Linked DNA regions of Homo sapiens: region 1 is linked to region 2. The links are contacts of gene promoters, found by promoter capture Hi-C in blood cells and fetal thymus (Javierre and others, 2016). All regions are on one chromosome and are shown on one strand. The core of a region is centred on a gene start or on the middle of the fragment in contact, and the rest is flanking DNA. Distances in the headings are between cores, read along the strand shown.

Region 1 (3,297 bases), core at 501-3,000, 420 kb after region 2:
CCTCTGTGCCTCCCATTTTGTTAGTGTCCAGGGATACTTATGGGGGCATCACAGGCTACTTTGTGACTGTAGAGATCCTGAAGATGTGTAAGATGGTAGGAAACAAAGCTACAAACAGAACATCGTGTTCAGCATTTTGATCTGATGTGTAAGATATTTCTTGACAAGCATGAACATGCATTCATGCTTGGAGGTGCTAACTGCCTCTCACACACAGGTCTTGCCCGTTGTGGAATCATAGCGCTAGGTATGTCCATACAGACACTCATTCAGTCTTGTGGTATTCTTTTTTAGCTTTTTGGATGTGTACCAGAACTGATGGATTTATGCTAGTGAACATTGTTCTGTGAGCCTGGGACAATGGATGCTGGTTGGTGATCCAGTTATATTCAGGAAACTGAAACAGAGAAATGGGCAGCTGCTTTTGTTTGGTGCTTCCGGGTAAATGAACAGAGTAGCTTTTCATAAGAGCCAAGAATATTTGGTGTTGTGTCATTTGACTTCCCCTTTTCCCAGTGCACACCCCTCCCAACCTGACCTCATACTTCTTGGTACATTTGTACTTTTTCTTGATTTTTAAAATGTTTTCAGGCAAGATCCTTAATTTTGATACCATAAAATAAGGTTTCTTTAATTTTCTACATGCCATTGGTATTCTCAAAAATCGATCTATATATAGGAGAAAAGGCTTTGGAAATGTATGAAAATGAGGTAGACCTGTCCCAGTTTAAAAAACAAAACACAAACACAATAAAACTATACCATCTCTTTCATCCCCTTCTCTATTTTTCACCTTATATAAGTAGGAGGAAGTACTTTGTCTTTAGGTCTGAGTACAAAAGCTTTTTATATTAAAAAATGTTTTAAAACTTACAGTTTGCCTTTTCAGAAGGGACACTTGTGTTGTAATTTTGCTGGAAAGGGAGCATATCAGAGTGGTTAAGAGTGCATATTTGAGCCAGATTACTTGAGTTTGAATCCCAGTTCATACCAGCAGTGTAACCTTGGTTATTTACTTAACTTCTTTGTGCTCTAGTTTCCTCATATGTAAAAAGGGGATGATCGATTTTAATCATAGTATTCTGAACATGAAGTGAGCACTGCATGTAGTCAGCAATAATGGTTAGCAGTTATTATTTTGAGTTACTATGATTGCCTTCTTCAAGCTTATCTTTTCCTATCCATCATACACAGGTAATGCCAAAAACTTGAGGCTAAAACTCTGTAGAGCTTAATTCCTTGTAAACAATAACCACTATTCTTTAAGCTCTTCTGGTCTTTTCTGCCACAAATTCTCACTAGGCGTTCTTTTGCTTTAGCTGTCGGCTTGGCTCTTGGCTCCTAACGGCATATTTGAGAGAAGCAACCTAAATTCAGTCTCTTATCTTGCCAGTGAGTGTCAGTCTGCACGTTGGCTGGCAGGTGAGAGGACCAAGGGAACAAGGACTTCAAGGGGCAGAGGTGCTGTCTCTTGTGCTGCTCTTTTTTGTGGAATACTGCCACCAGCAAGTGGCTTGGTGTACCAAGGGTGTCCTTGAATTTAGTCGGCAGTTGTAATTCCCCGTTCTGGATGCCTGAAATCAAATAGACTGTTCTGTCTTTTACAGGAAGGATCTCTTTCTGGCTCTTTCTTTGTGTTTCTTTGTGAAATTAATCTGGTTAAGAAGGGCTGTTGGGTGGGACAAGTCAGCAATTTGGAGGCAGTGTTGTGCAGAAAGGAAAAATATTTGGCATACTTGTGTTTTTGATGGCAATGGGTTGGCTCAACAATGTTGTGTTTTGTGTGGTACAAATAATTGTTGTTTATTCCTCTGTGATGCTGATGAATACAAGAGGACTGTGTCATAGTGCTTCTGCTTCTTTAGCCAGTTAACTGCATAAGTCTCTTAGAGAGCCTTGAGTTTCTGAAATGCAGCTCTCTTGAAGTCACCTTGAAGTGCCCTTCAAATGGCAGATTTTACACTATTCATTTCTTGTTGCCACTGGCTATTCTATTCTAATAGTTATTCCATGTTATCATGCCATGAGATGTTATGAGTAGTGTGTTTACACGTGTCATGGGAGAGTTGATGTTGTTGCTATTTATAGTGACTTATGAGTTCAGGAGACCTCAAAGGGTTCTAGTGTACTCCACGTGCTGGGGTGCTCAGGGCTAAAAAGAGATTGTGACTTAGGGTGGAAAATGGGGGGAAACCAGAATACTGTGCAGAATTTCAGTGTGAAATTTACTTTAGTGAAGTAAATGGGGTATAAATGACTGTCTGCCACAGGCATTACCACCTAAGCGGAAGGCAGGTCACATCCTGTGGTTTGGGATTCAAATTTACAAGGCAGGAAGCTTGAATGTGTATTTGTGAGTTTGTGTGAGTGTGTGTGATTTGAATGCACTGAAAAAAAGAAAGGTATTGGCAAGGGTCTTCTTGAAATAGTATTCTGTTTAGGAATTTTTTCATATAGAAGGAAATAATTCTTAAAGAACAAGGGTTCTTAATACCAGGGATTTAAATTCAGGGCTTTATGAGTGTGAACTCATAAATGCAGAAGTAGTTGGGGTGAGGGACCACGGGCCTACTCTATAAATAAATTCTGCGGAATTCTTCCATGACCACAATCTGGAGGCAGGAATGTTAGGCTCTTTTAATAACTTTCCCATGGATAGGAGTCTTACTTGACTTTTCATCACTTTTATAGAGGTGTTGCGAGCAAGGAGTCTCCATTTTCCTGGTTAATATAGAATCAAGATCCAAGTTATCCTTTATCCTTCTCTGTTGTTTTTCTTCCATAGCCAGCCATGCACTGAGCGCTGTTGGTTTTTCCTTCAAAGTTTCTCTTATGTCTGCCACTTCCTTTGAATTCCTAAGGCAATACTTCTTATTTGGAATTTCAGCGTTAAGTTCATCCTTGAAATAGAAGGGAGTTATTTCAGACAAGGCTGCCAGACATCTAAAATATTAGTTCTATAGTCTCTCCTTAATTAAATAACAAACAAACAAACAATCCTTTTTTTTTTTCTAGCAAACAGTATTTATTCCCCTTTCCCCCCGGGTGTCATTTCTTTGGGAATAGAAAAATGACCTTGTTTTGTGTATCTAGCCAACAATTCTTTTTTTTTTGTTATACTTTAAGTTCTAGTGTACATGTGAACAACGTGTAGGTTAGTTACATATGTATACATTTGCCATGTTGGTGTGCTGCACCCATTAACTCATCATTTAACATTAGCTATATCTCCTAATGCTATCCCTCCCCCCTCCCCCCACTCCACAACAGGCCCCGGTGTGTGATGTTCCCCTTCAT
Region 2 (3,288 bases), core at 242-2,741:
TTCCCCATTTTTCCATAATTCCATAAGCATCACAAGCTTTTACAGAAAAAGGCAGCGTAAAGTATTGGGCCAGGATTCAAATCAATTAGCTCAGCCACTGGCAGACAGCAGCCATGCTGATTAGCCTCCCAGTCTCCCTAAGTTAAAGGAGAAGCACAAATTGAATTAAGATAAATATGACCTAAGGAATCAGGGGCTGGGTAGTTAAAAAGTGTGCAGACACTTCCCAGATGCCACGTACCAAGAAGAGAAAGGTTCATCTACAAAGCACAAAATATTTGCAATCTAACTACACACCGACTTTTCTAAAAAAATAAAGAAAAAATGGAAAGGAAAACATTGCAAATTCATTCCTGGGACCCCAAGTTGTGTCCTCAACCCTCAACGCTCCCTCCCATTCACCCCCTCCCCCCAACAGCTAAATCTCCAAACTGCTTTCCCAGACGAGGCGACACACAGTCCTTAAAGACCTTCTGTATGAGTGGAGTTGCAGAGGTGACCTTCAGTAAACCGGGACAGCTCGTCTTTCCCTGGGGACAGGAGAGGGAACGGCGCGATGGGGACAGGCTCCTTCCCTACAAGCCAGCCCACGCAACTGTGTGCGCGCACCTTCCCAGCAGCGGCCGACCGAGAGGCGCCGAGGGCCGCCCAGGCCTAGCGCTCGGGCTGCACGGAAACTCCCAACCCTCCGGCGGGCTCGGGCCTCGCAACTTCACAACCAGCCGGCGGAAAGCAAGAAGATGCGAGGTGGGGGCGTCAGCAGCCTCACGAAACCTACCATGGGCCAGGCGGGGAACAAGGCCTCAACATTCACCCCAGCCACACTTACACTGCCCAACCGACCAGAGACTCGAGGCGAGAACAAAACAAGCAGAAGACCCGACGCCTGGGAGAGCTTCCCTTGTTCCAGGGCCCAATAGGAGCACAGGGTGGACGGGGGCGGGTGTGCGGCGAGTGTCGCGGATCCCCGGGCGTGCCCGCGAGGCGCACACGGAGGGACGGAGGGGCGCGGGGGCGCGTGCACGCGGCCCGGGAGGGATCTCGCGCCAGGTCCCTCACGGCGCCCACGTACCTGGCTGTAGCTGCGCGTCGGGACGGCGGCCGCCGCCGCCAGCGACTGCGGCAGCAGAGAGGCACGGAGGGCAGAGTAGGACGCGGCGGCCGCGGCCGCGGCAGAGGTGGCCACAGCGGGAGGCCCCGCCAGCCTCCCGGGAGGCACAGGCCCGGTCTGGAGGCCACGCGTCTGGGAGGCAGCGGCCGCGGCGGCCCCGAGCAGCAGCAGCAGGCGGCGGCGGCCCGAGACGCCCGACGGGATAGAGCCAGCGGCGGAGTAGAAGGGCAGGCAGGCGGCGCCGGTGCGCCGGCAGCTGCTGCAGTTACAGCCGCAGCCCCGGAGCAGCGCCCCGAGTACCCAGCGCGTGCCGGCCATGGACTCCGGAGGCGGCGCAGGGCCTGAAGGCAGCTGCTCCAGCAGCGATGGTGGAACGGAAGTGGAATCCAGGGCCGGTTGGGGGTGGGGTGTGCCTGGCACATGCGCCGCGGGCACTGGGTGGGGGGCCTCCGAGAGTCGGAAGGAGGTGGAGGAGAGCGCGACGCTCCGCCCAGTCTCCGCCCTTGGGCGGGGCTGCCCATGGTTTGGGCGGGGCTGCCCATGGTTTGGGCGGGGCTGCCCATGGTTTGGGCGGGGCTGCCCATGGTTTGGGCGGGGCTGCCCATGGTTTGGGCGGGGCTGCCCATGGTTTGGGCGGGGCTGCCCATGGTTTGGGCGGGGCTGCCCATGGTTTGGGCGGGGCTGCCCATGGTTTGGGCGGGGCTGCCCATGGTTTGGGCGGGGCTGCCCATGGTTTGGGCGGGGCCCGGGGAAGTGGGTGCAATCGAACTGCTCTTTTTTCAGGCGGTGGAAACTGAGGCCCAAAGTAAGTGAGGCTAGGGGCCTGGCGCAGTGACTCATTCGTAGTGACTCATTCTTGTAATCCTAGCACTTTGGCAGGCAGAGGCGGGTGGACTGCCTGAGGTCAGGAGTTCGAGACCAACCTAGGCAACACGGTGAAATCCCGTCTCTACTAAAATACAAAAAATTAGGTCGGACGCGGTGGCTCCCGCCTGTAATCCCAGCACTTTAGTAGGCCGAGGTAGGGCGGATCACCTGAGGTCAGCAGTTCAAGACCAGCCTGGCCAACATGGTGAAACTGTGTCTCTACTAAAAACACAAAAATTAGCCGGGTGTGGTGACGGGTGCCCGTAATCCCAGCTACTCAGGAGGCTGAGGCAGGAGAATCGCTTGAACCCAGGAGGCGGAGGTTGCAGTGAGCCAAGATCGTGCCACCGCACTGCAGCCTGGGCGACAGAGTGAGACGCCATCTCCAAACAAACAAACAAAAAAATTAGGTTAGGGCCATCCTGCTCTGGGTAGGGCCGAGAGCTGTAGCACAAGTCTGTGCTGCCCTGCGCTGTGCCACCGAAACCCGTGGTGTGAGTGGCTAAAGAACCCTTTCTGAAAGGAATTGTGATACCTTGGTTATAAAAAAATCGTTGGGATAATATCAGAGATTTGGTACCCCCCGAATTTGAGGTATGTGAGGAAGGAGAACTTCGTTGTTTTAAAATGAAATATAGGCCTGGCGTGGTGGCTCATGCCTATAATCCCAGCGCTTTGGGAGGCTGAAGTGAGAGGATCACTGGAGCCCAAGAGTTCCAGACCAGCCTGGGCAACATAGGGAGACCCCGTCTATACAAAAAATAAATAAAGCTGGGTGTGATGGCGTGGGCCTGTAGTCCCAGCTACTTGGGAGGCCGATTGCTTCAGCCCAGAAGGTAGAGGCTGTGGTAAGCTATGATTGCCACCACTGAACTCCAGCCTGGGTGACAGAGTGAAACCCTGTCTCTAAAAAAATAAAAGAAAACATATATATTTATTATGTACTGATAATACATAACAAAGGTGAACCCTCCCCTAATGAAACTGTATTCACAAGTGAACACACAGAGATTTGCACACACATACACAAAGACTGGTTGTGCAGCTTTTCTCCTCCTGAGCCAGGACTTGTCAAAGACAAGCAAAAGGAAGTTGTTAGAGTAAAAAATAAGAGAAAGCTAGTATTTTTAAAAACTCCTTACTGTGGAAAATGTCAAACAGAAGAGCAGAATGAATTTCCAGAACTTCATAAATTGTCAACACTTTTCAGTCTTGTTTCATCTATCCCCTACCACCATCTTCCAGACCTTATTTTCTTTGCTAGAATATTTTAAAGCAATGGGTATTACATTTAAAGTTTGACTTGTTTA

What was found. The method cuts DNA at HindIII sites, captures the fragments that hold promoters and counts their contacts. A CHiCAGO score of 5 or more calls a contact.
Region 1: a contact is called between a fragment that was not itself captured here and the fragment with the promoter of GRSF1 in region 2, in 1 of 17 cell types (monocytes). The highest score is 5.2, in monocytes.

The regions. Positions count from the first base shown.
Region 1 is chr4:71,259,763-71,263,059 of GRCh38, forward strand. The region is part of intron 3 of SLC4A4 (solute carrier family 4 member 4); the gene reads left to right. Among named protein-coding and RNA genes, the nearest start is that of SLC4A4, 74 kb to the left of the region's middle. The HindIII fragment of the contact is 1,172 bases long and covers 1,165-2,336 here.
Region 2 is chr4:70,838,399-70,841,686 of GRCh38, forward strand. It overlaps GRSF1 (G-rich RNA sequence binding factor 1), which reads right to left and starts at 1,492. Exons shown (of 10, transcript NM_002092.4): 1 at 1,073-1,492. The coding sequence starts at 1,429. LOC124900710 (a long non-coding RNA gene) reads left to right here and starts at 594. Exons shown (of 3, transcript XR_007058131.1): 1 at 594-747. RefSeq lists enhancers at 195-849, 850-1,503 and silencers at 900-1,449, 1,510-1,759. The HindIII fragment of the contact is 9,073 bases long and covers 35-3,288 here.